Linked DNA regions of Homo sapiens: regions 1 and 2 are each linked to region 3. The links are contacts of gene promoters, found by promoter capture Hi-C in human tissues and cell types (Jung and others, 2019). All regions are on one chromosome and are shown on one strand. Each heading gives the region's core, a stretch centred on a gene start or on the middle of the fragment in contact. The rest is flanking DNA. Distances are from core to core; before and after follow the strand shown.

Region 1 (5,095 bases), core at 1,160-3,659, 41 kb before region 3:
AAATAGTAGAGACAGAAAATCCAGTTGGCCTAACTAATGTTTATTAAGAGCTTGGTAAGGAAATATGAGATTAATCTATATTTTAAAAGTCATATTGCCTATCTTTACATAGTTTACACTAATAATTTAGTAGAGATGTATATTTCTATGGAATACCTTGTAAAAATATTTTTCTGTATATCCCTTTCTCCCTGCTTCTCACTCTAAAGAAGCTGATAAGTGATAGCTTAGTCCTTGCCTCATTAATACCTTCAACCACTCATTTTCTGTCAGTTCCTTTTTTTCCGTCTTCAGACATCCTCTCTTAAAAATACCAACAATGAGACCTACTCCCTTTTCTAGCTACCATCATATTTCTAGCCTTTCTTTCCACTCATATGTTTTCAATGAGTCATCAACATCTCCTGCCACAATTTCCTTTCCACCCACTCCCTCTTTAACCCCCTACAATCAATCCAGTTCTTTTATACACCACCTACAAGGTCAGAATGCTAGGGTTTAGAGAGTCTGAGAGTGTCAGGAAGATATAACATTTGTACCCAAGGAGCTAATCAGAAAAAATCTACTTAAATCATCCAAATATCCACTAGGAAGAGACTAGAGACAGGGGTTAAAAAAGAGAACTAACATTTATTAGGTATCTTCTGGTATACTGTTGTGGTAGATTATCTCCCATCATGGCCATCAGCAATTCATCCATCCAGGTATACTCATGTCTCTCCAACTCTAACTTTATCAGAAATCACAATAAATATAAATGGACCAAATTCACCCATTAAAAGACAGATAAAATATTATTATACAATATTATATACAATATCTATCTATATCTGTAGCTATATATTCCACCTATATACTATTCATAAGATGAACCTAGAAAACACAAAGGCATTGAAAATAATAAATGAAAAAATAAGTTAGGCAAAAACTAACCATAAAAGAGTTGGAATAAGTAAATTAATATCAGACAAAAGACTTTAATATAATTAATCAGAAAGAGAATCACTATATAATAATAACAGAAGTGAGATAAAGAGGTAGAGAATACCCCTGGCATCATCAGTTTTAGAAATGGGGGTCTAGTAACTATCTCCAATATCACAGCTCAGAATCAGGCCAATTCTGCTCAATTTAATCCAATCTCACAATTATTTGTGTGAAAACTCCCAAATTTGTCACCATGGGCAAAAAAGCTTAATCTAATAGACATATATAGAACCCTATGCCTGATAATTACAAAATATGCATTACTCTTTTCAAACACATAGAAAATATTTTCAAAAATTAAACTGCAAAAGGCTATAATGCAAGTCTCAACAAATTCCAAAGAATCATATAGTCAATAACAAAAAACAAGATCAACTTGTCTGTTCATTTCCTCTGCCAATATCTTATCTCTCTGAAACTGCCTTATTCATTTGTACTTCTCTTTTGACATTGTTCATAGACATTGTGTCCATTTATGCAACACATTTGTATTAAATACTTACATACCAGTCAGTGTTCTAAGCATAGGGGATACATTAATGAACAAAGCAAAATAGACAAAGATCTCTCCTTTGAGGTGCTTACATTTCTAGCGTCACTTCTATCACTAGACTGCAAGTGCCCTAAGGCAAGACTATGTCTAATCCAGATTTGGCTAGCTCCCAATGTGCTGCTGGGACGGACACCATGTCGGATCTGACAAGGTACAGAACCCACACACTCTGATATTTAAGACAGAGGGCTTGCTGAGGCTTAAGGTATGATCTTCGGATAGTGTGGAATACAGCTTATCAGGCAGGGACCTAGAACCAGAAGGAGTAACAGACTCAACACACCCCTCACAACTCCCGTATCAGTAATTCAATAGCTCAAGTCTCAGCAGTCCATGGGTCAAAGCAAACTGAAGTCTAAACCATGTTGTCAAAGCAAAGATGCCGAAGACCAGATGTCAAAAATACTGGAAACAATGAAATCAGACAGATTAGGAGAAATAATCATATATTTTAATATGTCCTTGCAAATTGGGGCACAGTTTAAAGAGGCCAGATAAGCCAAGTGACTAGTGACCACATCTCACAGGTCTGTCTGGTTGTAAGGGCCCTTTCATCCTTCCTCTATGAGATAAGAATGAACATCCAGGTCTAAGAGCATCCAAGCTAGGGAGCAGGACAAGGAGACTATATATGTAGCTTGCTTCAAACAGATTCATGTTCTAATAGGAATAAAGGTAAGGTGGCTGGCTTTACAGAAAACTCTGCTACATTCCAGAATGGCAAGTTAACAGGCAGCATAACCAAGAAAAGGGCCTGAAAAAGAGAGATGCCTCCAACTTCTGACACAGGTTTAAAAGAAGACTGGTTCCTTCTGCAGAGACACATCCCTTTCCAAAGGCCGTATCAGTCCAGAGAGAAAGACCAAAACAAAAGCCCCACAGCAAGAAACAGGAAGGAAGGGGAACTATTCAAATTCCCTGCCCCTCTCCTCCATAGCACACAATAGCTGGGACCTCTACTGGGGCATCATAGCTCCAAAGGAATCCTTCTGACATGGTGTTTTCTGTTTTTTAAGCCTCTGTTTGAGCACTGTCACTATGGCAACAAGGCTGGGATGCTTCTGCTCTAAGTGAGAGGGCTTATCCCTTCAAATATGCTTCTTGAGTCAGCAACAAAGGAACTCACTGAACCTCAACTAATCTCATATTCTCCTTGGAGACCTCTCTTAAAAGGCATTTTCCCTCCTTGCTCCCACAAATCTTCTAGGTTTATGCTCTGTGTTCAGCCAACAACCACATTCACATAATGATTGAGTTTACTCTCACACACCTATCTCGACCAAGCTCTGAGGTGTCCTCTTTAGTCACATAAGCCTCTCCCATACCTATTAAACAGAGACAAAGCAAGGACCTTGGTTTGGGGGAGGCCTCCCAGGAAGGCTAGTGGACATGGGCCCCCAAGCTAGGATGGAACAGAGGAATGAGGGGTAGGAGGAGCAGGAAGCCAACTTGTATAACTTTCTTTTCCAGAGGGAGGAATCCATGGTGGCATGTAGCCCTGGCAGGCCTGATCCTCACCACCTGGATCTGTCCTCAACCTGTCCTAGGCTAGCTGCTCTGTCTTGGCTCAGGTTCCACATCATTCCCAGCCACAGCTCTTTCAAGAGTAAAAGTTGGCTCTGGGGAATACATCCTCCCTGCCTTCAGAGGGGTCTTCCTTAGTCATGAGTTCTTAGAATCCTAAAATATAGGCCTACCTCTTATTAGTTTTATTACCTTAGGGAAGTCACTTAACCTTTCTAAGCCTGTTAACTCATCTTAAGACAGGAGCAATTGACCACTCCATCGGGTTGTGATAAAGACGGAGGGGCAGGCATACATTCTACAACTCTTAGTTCTGTCTGCACCCAGCCCACTCTTCCCTCAGAAGCAGACAGTGTCTAATCTTAGGAAGGTCTGTAAGCACAGAGAAAAAAAGATGCACCAACCTCACCTTGATAACTCCAGCTCCAGTGTGTGTCACCATTTCTGGGTAATATATAACTCTTCTCCTCAGTTGTTTTTTTTTTTTTTTTTTTTTTTTTAAAGACAGGATCTTGCTATGTTGCCCAAGCTAGCATGCAGTGGCTATTCACAGGTACAATCATAGTGCACTGTAGCCTTGAACTCCTGGCCTCAAGCAATCCTCCTGCCTCAGCCACCTCAGTAGCTGGCACTGCAGGCATGAGCCACAGTGCCTGACCTCTCCACTAGTTTTCAAAGCAAACAAACAAATAAGAGAGGGTATTCAGTCTCTTTTGCCTTTATTGTAAGAGACAATGAGGTGACAGCAAAGATAATTCTAGGAAGCAAACTTCTGGGTTCTAGTCCTTTTTGCTCACTGAGTTCCTCAGCCTATCCTCCAGAGGACTGACCTCCCTGTGGAAAGGGGCTGCACAGGGCACTCTGTTAGGGTCCATTCCAACTCTAAGATCTCTGGGTCTTAGGTGAGTACCAAATGACCCATGAAATTGGAATAAAGAAGACTTTGCAGAGAGACTGGTACCCTCTAGGAGTGTCCTAAAACAGGGCAGATGAGACATGCAGGACACAAAGACTAGAAGCATCATTTATACCCAGGAAATATTTACCGCAAGGACATGTCAGGAGTCCATCCACCTCAGGGACAGAGTTCAAAGTTGACAATGCTGGGGAAATAGACATGAGCACCTTTTGGGTTTTCGTTTTGTTTTGTTTTGTTTTTTTGAGACAAGGTCTCACTCTGTTGCTCAGGTTGGAGTGCAGTGGTGCAGTCACAGCTCACTGCAGCCTCAAACTCCTGGGCTCAAGCAATCCATCTGCCGTAGCCTCCCAAGTAGCCAGGACTACAAGTACACACCACCATGCCCAGCTATATTTTTTTATTTTTTAGAGACAGGGTCTTGCTCTGTAGCGCAGGCTGGAGTACAATGGCAATCATAGCTAACTGCAGGCTCAGATTCCTGGACTCAAGCAATCCACCCATCTCAGCCTCCCAAATAGCTAGGACTACAGCTACACACTTCTATGCCCAGCTAATTCAAGCCATTAAAAAATTCCACCACCTCCCCACTGTTTAAAATAAATGTTTTATTTGGGAATAACATTATATTCTTAGAAAAATTTCAGACATGATACAGAGTCCCTGGTACTCTTCACTCTGTTTCCCCTAATGTTAATCTATTACATCACCATGGTACATTTTTCAAAACTAAGAAACCAGACTTTATTTGGATTTCACCAGTTTTTTAACTGATGTTATTTTTATGTTCCAGGATCTAATCCAAGATACCTCATTGCATTTAGGATAAAGCACTTTTTAATGGTGAAAGATTTCTATCATAGCGACAAAACGGATTCTTGATTAAAAGAACATCAGATACATTTGTGTCTCTTTGGGAACCCTTTCTTCCCATTTCCATGTCTGTTCCTCCCGTAAGAACCATTATAAACTCATTGTTTTATCATTCCCAGACATGTTTGTGTGAATGCACAGAAAGACAGTATAAGCACAAACACTGTATATATAGTGTTGTTTTCCAGGCTTTAAAACGCATATAAACACTATTCTTTTCATATCCTCCTGTAACTTGCTTC
Region 2 (4,728 bases), core at 2,208-4,707, 50 kb after region 3:
TCAAGGGGTACTGCCAACTCACTCATTTAACTGATGAAATAATGCTGAAAGAGGCTGACTTACCCAAGATCATATGGCATGAGGGCTTACCATGCTAAGTGCTTTTCATGAATGATTTCTTAGTTTCCCATGACAACTCTATTCATGTCCCTACTTTACAGCTGAGGTTTAGAGAAGTTAAATGGCTTGCTCAAAGTTACTCAGCTAATATGTGGCAGAGCTGGGATTCCAGTCAGATCTCTCTAGCTTCAGAACCAGAGGGCTCAATGGTGTTGCTATACAAGTCTTCAGCTTCTCATCAGGACCCCCTGCCCAGAATCACATGGTTTTAAAAAAACATTTCGCCAGGTTTGAAATTCCTAAACTAATTTAATTGGAACAGAAGAAAACATCATTAGAAATTAGCAAAAACATTGGCAAAATAAGAGAAAAAGATATGGGGGAGAAAACAGGTCTAACATTATTTTGAAGTTTATAAAAACATCTAAAAATAAAAAAGGCATGAGTTATTCAAAGGAAGTCAATTTTACCTGGTTAATTCTCTTAGTCGAGTCACCTCAGCATCACGCTGACGTAATGTTATCCCCAATATCTGGTTTTCCTTTTCAGCAGTTTCTAACTTAAACTGGGAGCTTTTCACATTGACTAGGGCTTCCTCCAATTCTAAAACAACAAAAGTTTCAGTTTCCTTATTCCTTTTAAAAGATGTGACCATAACTACTGTCTAAATACGTACCAATTTTTATTCTTGTTATCTCAATATCATATTGCTGTTTATTTTCAAGTATAGTTTGATCTTTGTCTTTAAATATACTACTAAATTTTTTGTTTTCATCTTTCTGATTTTCAATCACTTTTAACAGCTCTTCATTTTTACTCTGCAGTAATTCCTGGCTCTTTAGTGACTCCTCCAATTGATTTTGCAGTGACATATTCAATGACTGAAGAGAAAACACTGTTAAGACAAAATGGATCAAATAGTTGTTTCCCAAACCTAAAAAGTACAAACTTGGAAAATACCTGTTTCTTAAAAAAAAAAAAAAAAGGCCTGAAATTTATTGATTTTGTTTAACGATTAATTGCATGAGCAGTTCTACATAAATACTACATATATTTTTAAAAATGATTGGCAGAAGTCATACCTTTCTTTTCCAGTTGACATTTTAAGCATTAATTTTTTAAACCCTTTTAAAAGAAAGAATACATAATCCTTTTAAAAGAATAATACATGTACAAAGTTAAAAAATTCAAACACCACAGAATGTCAATGATTCTCAATGAAGAATCTCCCTTCCACTCCTCCTCTCTGTCCCCAGAGACAATCAGTATTAATTTTGGTATCTTTCGTGAAAACACTTTTACATATGGTATTAATTACACTACATACACACACATACTATACACAATTTCTAACTTTGCCTTTTTTTCCCATAAGACTGTTGTATACAAACACATAGATCTATCACGTTCTTTTTCATGGCGATAAAAGTATATGGCACCATTTGTTGAGCAAATACATGCTCAGCGAATGCTTCCTATGTGTGAGGTATTGTATTAGAATCTGAATATACAGAGATGAACAACACAGACGTGGCCCCTGTTCTCACAGAGCTGATAACAAACAAGTAATTATACACAGTAATGATCTCAAAGAAACAATAAGATAAATGATCAGATAATATAAATAAGAGAAGCTATTTAAAGTGGCAACTACTGATCTCCCCACTTGTCCTCTAGGCCTCCTCTCTCCTACCCTCTCCCTTTCCTCACCTTTGGTTAACAGTGGAGACACAGTGATAATTTCTGAATCACTCTGGTGAAACTGAACACTTTTATAAAGTGCTCATTCTGTTGGGCAATCATATTTTTTTCTTATTGATTTATAAGACATATTTATATATTAAGAAGATTAAGCCTTCATCATGTCATGTATTGTTTCTCCATTTTGCTTATGTTTTGAATGTATTTATAATTTTGCTATGTAGAAACTGAAAAAGTTTTCTGGGGACATATTTTATCAATCTGTTCCTCTGTGGCATTTGAGTCTTTGTCAGGCTTAGGAAAAGTTCCCCTCCAAAAAAATAAAAAAATAAAAATTCTTATATTTTCTTCTGGTACTATTATAGTTTCTTTATTAAGCTCTGTGATCATTAAGGACAATTTGGCAATATCTGTCACAATTGCAACTGTATATACCCTTTGGCTCAACAATTCTACTGCTATAAATCTATCCTACAAAAATGCTGGCCAGGCGTGGTGGCTCATTGTCTGTAATCCCACACCTTGGGAGGCCGAGGTGAGTGGATCACTTGAGGTCAGGAGTTCAAGACCAGCCTGGCCAACATGATGAAACCCTGTCTCTAATAAAAATACAAAAATTAGACAGGCGTGGTGGCAGGCGCCTATAATCCCAGACACTTGAGAGGCTGAGGGAAGAGAATCACTTGAACCTTGGAGGCAGAGGTTGCAGTGAGACACGATCGCACCACTGCACTCCAGCCTGGGCCACAGAGTGACGCCGTCTCAAAACAAACAAACAAACAAACAAACAAACAAACAAAGCTGACATATATGCACAAAGACATATACAAAGATTTTCACTGCAATGTTGTTTGCACTGGGAAAAAAGGGGAAAGTACTATTAGCAAAGGACCATATTATGGTAGACCTGGATAAGCAGAATACCCAAGTAATTCTTAAAGAGAAAGATGCATAATTATGTATTTTGATAGACAAAAGTGTCCATTATATGTTAAGTGAATAAACAGAAGCTGTGGAAAAGTATGTACAGTGTGATCTCATTTTTAAAAAAGTACATATATAGTTCTATTTGTGCCTGGCACACAGTAGGTATTCAGTAAGTGTTAAATAAATCAATTATATATGAAGAGAAGATATGTAAAAGGAAACACACTCCTGTATTTCAAAACAAACAAACAAAAAAAGGTGTATATTATTGGGAAGTGACAGCATCTTTTATTTTCTTATGTTTCTACAATATTTTAAATTTATCCCCTCAAAGTAATTACAAAAGCTCAATTCTTTATCAACATTTCCGGAGCCACAAATAATTTATCAATCCTTAAAGTTCTTTTACCTACATTCAAGGTTGCAATCCACAGCACCAGATGGTTTTTGAGTTTTCTGTTGTTCTCTGAGTTGCTGGTTCAAAATTCTCAACTGCCTAAAGAAATAATGAAGAACTATGAATGCAAGCATACCAAGCCAATTTAATAGTATACATGTGATAGCCTATCAAAAAAGATAAAACATAAACCCACTAAGACAGCAGAAGTCCATCTCATCCCCAAAAGACAAAAACTAAATAAACAAAACAAAAACAAAACCATACTACTATTATTATGAGGCCTGAGATAATTTTTAAGGTTGCCTGAAACAACATAAAACCTCCCCTCATGGGCCAGGCGCGGTGGCTCACGCCTGTAATCCCAGCACTTTGGGAGGTCGAGGTGGGCGGATCACCTGAGGTCAGGAGTTTGAGACTAGCCTGGCCAACATGGCGAAACCCCATCTCTACTAAAAATACAAAAATTAGCTGGGCGTAGTGGCGCGTGCCTGTAATCCCAGCTACTTGGGAGGCTGAGGCAGGAGAATTGCTTGAACCTGGGAGGTGGAGGTTGCAGTGAGTGAGATCGCACCACTGCATTCCAGCCTGGCGAAAGAGTGAGACTCTGCCTCAAAAAAAAAAAAAAAAAAAAAAAAACCCTCATGAGGAAAGTGTTAATTTCTCTTTTTTGTCTCTTCAGTGATTTGTTGTTTTTTTTCTATTTCTTTCCTTTTCTATCTGCTCATGCTGTTTCTCATCGTCTTTCTGTGTATCTTCATCACTGTAGTTAATCATCTACTTTTTAAAAGATTTGTCATTACTATCAACTAGAATACCTACAAGCACTGACTGCTATCAGACATCTATCTGCCTGATGTTTGTCATATGCTGAAACACAAATCTATGCTTCTAATAATTTTATTAGATGGAAAAGTTAATGGTCTTAAGTAACGAGAATATTAACAGGCTACAAATCTGCCCTGTTACAATGAACTTCACAATATGTATCTGCTTCACAAATAGAAACATATGCAAGTGTTTTCTTTACTTCTAAGAAGTTATCGCTTATGGGGACAAAAGTTACCTCTATTATCTTTCCAGAATTACTTACCTAAAAATATTTTGCCTTAAAATATTTATTTTTGGTACTAACTCTAAAATGATAGTACCCTACCTCACATCACTCACATATATTAATTTCGAGTTGATTAAAGTGATAAAATATGTAAACAAAACCCAACTATACAAGTTTTAGGGGGAAATCTACATAATCTTGAAGTCGGGAAGGCATTTCTAAGTGAAACTCAATATCCAGCAAGCATCAAGGAAAAGAACGAAAGATTTAACCATAGCAAAATTTGAAACCTGTAGAATTAAAAGCCTGAAAGAAAATACCTGCACATATGTTATAGACAAGGGGTCCATAACATTTAAAGAACTCCTACAAATCAGTAAGGAAGGCAACCTAGTAAAAAGTGACAAAGGATAAGAATGAGCAGTTCACCTAAGAAATAGAAATGGCCTATAAGCATATGATAAAAATGCTCATCTTCACTAACATGAAGAATTGCAAATTTAAAAGAAGGTACTTTTTGGCCATAGAATTGACAAAAATAAAAAGAAATAACATTTTCTGATGATAGTACAGGAAATGAATTAAC
Region 3 (4,790 bases), core at 334-2,833:
AAGGCTCCTGGCCCACTGAGAGTGGGAGAAAAAGGGGTAACCTCACTCTGGGCAGGAAGGAAAATTCCATGCTGCCCTAGAGCACTGTGGTGCCAGCAGCATCATCCTCCACAGTCCCACAGTGTGCAGGCGGGGAAGAGACTAAGAGAATCACGGAAGAGAGAAGGAGGTCAAGAATTTAAGAGAAAAGAAAACAGTTCTATTAGAACCCTAAATGCCTTGTAGGAACCTAGTAAAGTCACCAGATGCACCTACACTTCTCCCAGAGACTTGCATTGTTGATTCCTGATTCTTTGAAGTGTGGGCGGGGTTCCCCAAATGGTCCTCCTAAGCCCACCATCTGGAAATAATTTATTGATAAGTGCATTTTGACAAAAAGTATTCCATTCAGGTGGAGAAGAACACAGCCTCTCTTGGAAGGGGGATGCAGCTCCAGGGCAGGCTCTCAAAGGCTGTGGGGTGGGCGGGTCATTGCATATACTCTGGTCTTTGCACTTGGGGAGAGGAGGGATGGTAAAAACCAACGGCCTGAGGTCTGGCATCATGCCCACTGCCCAGGTGTTTCCCTACACCCACCCAGCTCCCTGAATCACAACAGCTAATTTTACTCCCTCTAGACTCTAGTAGAGCTGGGTCTTCTCCTTCTGGCTACGAAATAGAAAGTGCCCCGCACCCCAACACACACACCCCAATCTAAAAAAAATATATATCCTTGAAACCATTTCCCCATCAGCCCATCTTCACATCTGCAATGCCACTCCTAGAAATTCAGTCCTTTGGGTCTTGAAGGGTTTTAGTTCCATAAGTTCCAGGGAGGGGTCTACCTCAACCATTGACAACTCACATCTCCTGAGAAGTTTATCCAAAACTTTCCAACTGCAATCATCGGCGAACAAGGTCCCTCAACAATGGGACCCCAGTTAACGCGAAGGAGGCAGAGCGAGGTAAGGAGCTTAAATGAGGAGTATGGAGTAGGAACAAGTCTGCAAAGCCCGCGCCCCAGCTTCGCCTGGGATGGCCAGGTCTGGCACTCGCGGGCCGCCTTCCCCGCCCTACCTTCCCGGAATCACATTTGGGCTGGAAGGACCTTCACGTGGCACCCCCTTCCCAGAGGCCGTCACCGAGTCCTCTAGCGAGGGTCTGGGAGCTGGGAGAAGGGTCCGCTTCTCCTCCGCCCCTCAAATCAAAGGCACCCCCTTCGGATGATTCCTAGAAAGGCAATCGCATCAGTGTCCCCAAGCACTTCATCTCCCCAAAAGAAAACTCGTGCAGCCTGGCGTCACTGGGGTCGTCTCCTTACGCCCCTGACTCCTCGCCGCACCCCGGGGCCCCTCTCCATTAGGGGAGTCGGGAGGCACAGACGGTGGGGGTCCCAGCCCCCACCCAGAACTCCCACCCTCGGAGCCTTGACTTCCAGGGCCCGCGCCTGGACAAAAGCATGGGGCGGGCTCACTCACCCGCGCGGCGAAGGCGGCCCGGGAGCCGGGGCACCGGCGCTCGGCGGGGCGCCCCGGCCGCAGGCGCACAGCGCGGGCTCCGAGCTCGCTCAGCGCCCTGCTGCCGACCGGGCGGCGCGGGGAGCCCGCGAGGCGCGTCCGGGACTGGGCAGGGCGGGGCGGGGCGGGGCGGGGCGGGGGTGAGCGAACCGGCGAGAGAGAGAGCAAGTGGGAGAGCGGAGAGCGGACGCGCGCTGAGGAGAGCGAGTGAGAGCGCGGCGCTACGGGGTCAGGACTCAAACCACCCGCTCCAGCCCCCATGCACTGATTTGCATGACATTTGCATAGCGCTCGGGGAGTGGACCTGCTGCCCTTCCCGCCACGCCCACCCGCCTTCTGCCTCGGAGTCCGGAGCGGAGAATCCGCAGCCAAACCTAGCGCCAGACCCGGGCCCCCCTCGCACTTATCCTGCACCGCCCCAGTTAACTCCTCGCAGGCGGCGGTCAGCGGGCTGGTACTGTCTTGGTGCGTGTCTTAGTCCTACACTGGGAGACCTAGGCCTTAGGTCGGGGTCTGATGCTAGCTTCGTGAGCGTGCATGAGACACTGGCTGCCTCTGGGCCTCAGTTTTCTAATCTGTAAAATGAAGATGTCAGCGGAACCATGGGGCTAAAGTTTTAGTGCTGGAAGGTTGTCTATGTAGTTTTTTTCAGACATCCTCCAGTGGTGCAACTCAGCCCCATGGTTCCTCTGACATCCTCCCTTTGTGTGTGTTAAGAATCTCTCATTGGTTTGGAAGATACCTACAAAGTTCTTTAAATTAAAAAAGGGGAAAGGGGAGGGGGGGGAGGGGAGGGGGAGGAGGTGTTTCTGGTTTTGGCTTGCTTTATATTTAGTTTGCACCCAATATGAAATATTTTATAGCTTCTGATCTCTTCACTTGGACCTTCTTTTGTTTTTTTTAAAAAAACTGTTTACTGCAGGTTAAGGAGTGTTTTTAAAAATTTTTTAATTGTAAAATAAAACATAAATACAGAAAACCACAAAAAACAAATATATAGATATATAGACTAGTGAATTATTATAAAGGGAACATCCTTGTAATCACCACCTGGATCAAGAAATAGAACTCTGCCAGCCACCCCAGGAGCCTCTCCATGTGCCCTACCTCAATGACAACCCCCTTTCTCCCTCCTCCCAAAAGTAACCACTAACCTGACTTTCATGTAGTCACTTCTGCTGCTTTTGTTTTTCTTGGTATCTTCCAAGGGTGCACCTTACCCCTCCCCCCACTCTTTTTTTTTTTAATTTGATTTGCCTTTTCAGTCTTTTCCTTACAATTATTTGTTAAATAACTTAAGCCCTTGATCTGTGAGGTTTTCCAGAGTCTGGGGGTTGCACATTCATGAGGCAATTCAGCATGTTTCTCTGTCCTCTGTATTGACAGCAAGTTGGCAGCTGATCCAGGGTCTTCCTCAGACTGAAGTTTGATGTCTTTTGTAAGATTATAGATGGTTGTGTGTTCTTTTCTTCAAGAGGTACATGATCATGATGTCTGGTGTTTGCTCTTTTTTGAGGTTAACAGCCGTCGATGCTCAATTCCTAGATTCATTAATTAATTGAAGTTTGCAAAATCATGGTATTCTAATAATTTTGTTTTCATTTATTAGTTCATAAGTGGATAAGGAGATGCTTCCTCTCATCTACTATTTGATTACCCTGAGATAGGAAAGGCACGATGAATACCTGCTTTTTTTTAAAAAAATTACCCAGTTTTCAAGTTAAGGAATTGATTCTCTGTCATTCTTAGATTTCTTTAATATCATTATAAATTCATGAATTTAAATATATTTGATAGGTTTCCATCTACGATATTAGAGCTCAAATTGTCCCATCTTTGGCCAGTAGGAGCTTCTTCAATATGGCTCCTGGCTCCTTTTGATAAGATTCTAGTAGTCTTTTTTTTTTTCTCTCTCTCTCTCTCTCACTAGTGTGCAAAGAGCTTCAAAGACCCTAGAAGTCTTTGATAGCTTCCTTGCTATCTGATATGACAAGATGTTCCAGGCACATCTGTACATTTGCTGCCTCAAACCTGGAATCAGCCATTTCTCCAAGAAGCTCTAGTTTTTTTGTTTTTTCTTTCCTTCCTTCCTTCTCTCTCTCTTTTTCTTTCTTTTTTTCTTTCTTTCTTTCCTTCTTTCCTTCTTTCCTTCTTTCTTTCTTTCTTTTCTTTCAGATGGAGTCTCACTCTGTCACCAGGCTAGAGTGCAGTGGCACGATCTCGGCTCACTGCAACCTCCACATCCCTGGTTCAAGGGATTCTCCTGCCTCAGCCTCCTGAATAGGTGGGATTATAGGCACGTGCCACCACACCCAGCTAATTTTTGTATTTTTAGTAGAGACGGGGTTTCATCATGTTGGCCAGGATAGTCTCAATCTCTTGACCTCGTGATCTGCCCACCTCGGCCTCCCAAAGTGCTGGGATTACAGGCATGAGCCACCCCGCCTGGCCAGAAGCTCTAGTTTCTTTTGTTGAAATTTTAAGATAACAATATGAGCACTAGGAGTATTCATTGTTACTAGGTTGGTAACTGTTTCTAGGCCTTTTCAATAGACAGAGCTACTAAAGAATACTTCATTTTTTTATATTCTAGAGAAATATTATTCTTCATAATATTTTCATCAGTTTATATTATTTCCAATTTAATTTCAGGACTGTAGTTTTTACTTAACATATATTACATTAGGACCTCTTTTCTTTCATGTAGAGAATTCTGGTTCTCAAGGACAAAAGGGAGGATGAAATTAGAATATCCCAATTTACTAATTTGCTTTAGTTTGCATTAAACATATAATAATAATCTCAGAATAACAATATTAATACTACCATCATCAGTTTTGATTCTTGAAAACAGTTTTTTTTGCATATGCTATCCATCTTTTATAGTTATACTCTATCTAAATTATCAGCTTCTATAGCCATCTATACCATAATCTTCCTATTTAACCCTAATTTAGTCTTAATTTTACAGTTCTACAATTCTAATCCTAATTAAAGTTCAAATATATATTTAATGCTTACCATTAGTTCCTTATGTTTATGTATCTTTAGTCATTTTGGTTGTCTGAAAGCTTGTCCTCTACTAGATTCCTTAGGAAGGGCTCATGGAAAGAATATGCTCTGAGTTCTTGCATGTTGCTTACAGTTTGTTCATGCCATTTTACTTGAAGGTCAATTTTGTTGGATTCAAACTACTTGGTGTCTTGGTCCAGCTGGGTTGCTATAACAACAACAACAAAAAAAAAAAACACAAAATAAGTGGCTTATAAACAAGAAACATTATTTCTTATAGTT

What was found. The method cuts DNA at HindIII sites, captures the fragments that hold promoters and counts their contacts. A contact is called where the count stands out against the background at its distance.
Region 1: a contact is called between a fragment that was not itself captured here and the fragment with the promoter of MYLK in region 3, in 1 of the 25 tissues and cell types used here (lymphoblastoid cells).
Region 2: a contact is called between a fragment that was not itself captured here and the fragment with the promoter of MYLK in region 3, in 1 of the 25 tissues and cell types used here (IMR-90 fibroblasts).

The regions. Positions count from the first base shown.
Region 1 is chr3:123,841,284-123,846,378 of GRCh38, forward strand. The region is part of intron 2 of MYLK (myosin light chain kinase); the gene reads right to left. Among named protein-coding and RNA genes, the nearest start is that of MYLK, 41 kb to the right of the region's middle. The HindIII fragment of the contact is 4,788 bases long and covers 16-4,803 here.
Region 2 is chr3:123,930,572-123,935,299 of GRCh38, forward strand. CCDC14 (coiled-coil domain containing 14) reads right to left here. Exons shown (of 13, transcript NM_001366335.1): 10 at 3,102-3,184; 11 at 737-955; 12 at 531-663. Among named protein-coding and RNA genes, the nearest start is that of CCDC14, 28 kb to the right of the region's middle. The HindIII fragment of the contact is 6,144 bases long and covers 386-4,728 here.
Region 3 is chr3:123,882,749-123,887,538 of GRCh38, forward strand. It overlaps MYLK (myosin light chain kinase), which reads right to left and starts at 1,584. Exons shown (of 34, transcript NM_053025.4): 1 at 1,458-1,584. It also overlaps a transcript of CCDC14 not described here. RefSeq lists a silencer at 1,464-1,623. The HindIII fragment of the contact is 8,771 bases long and covers 1-4,790 here.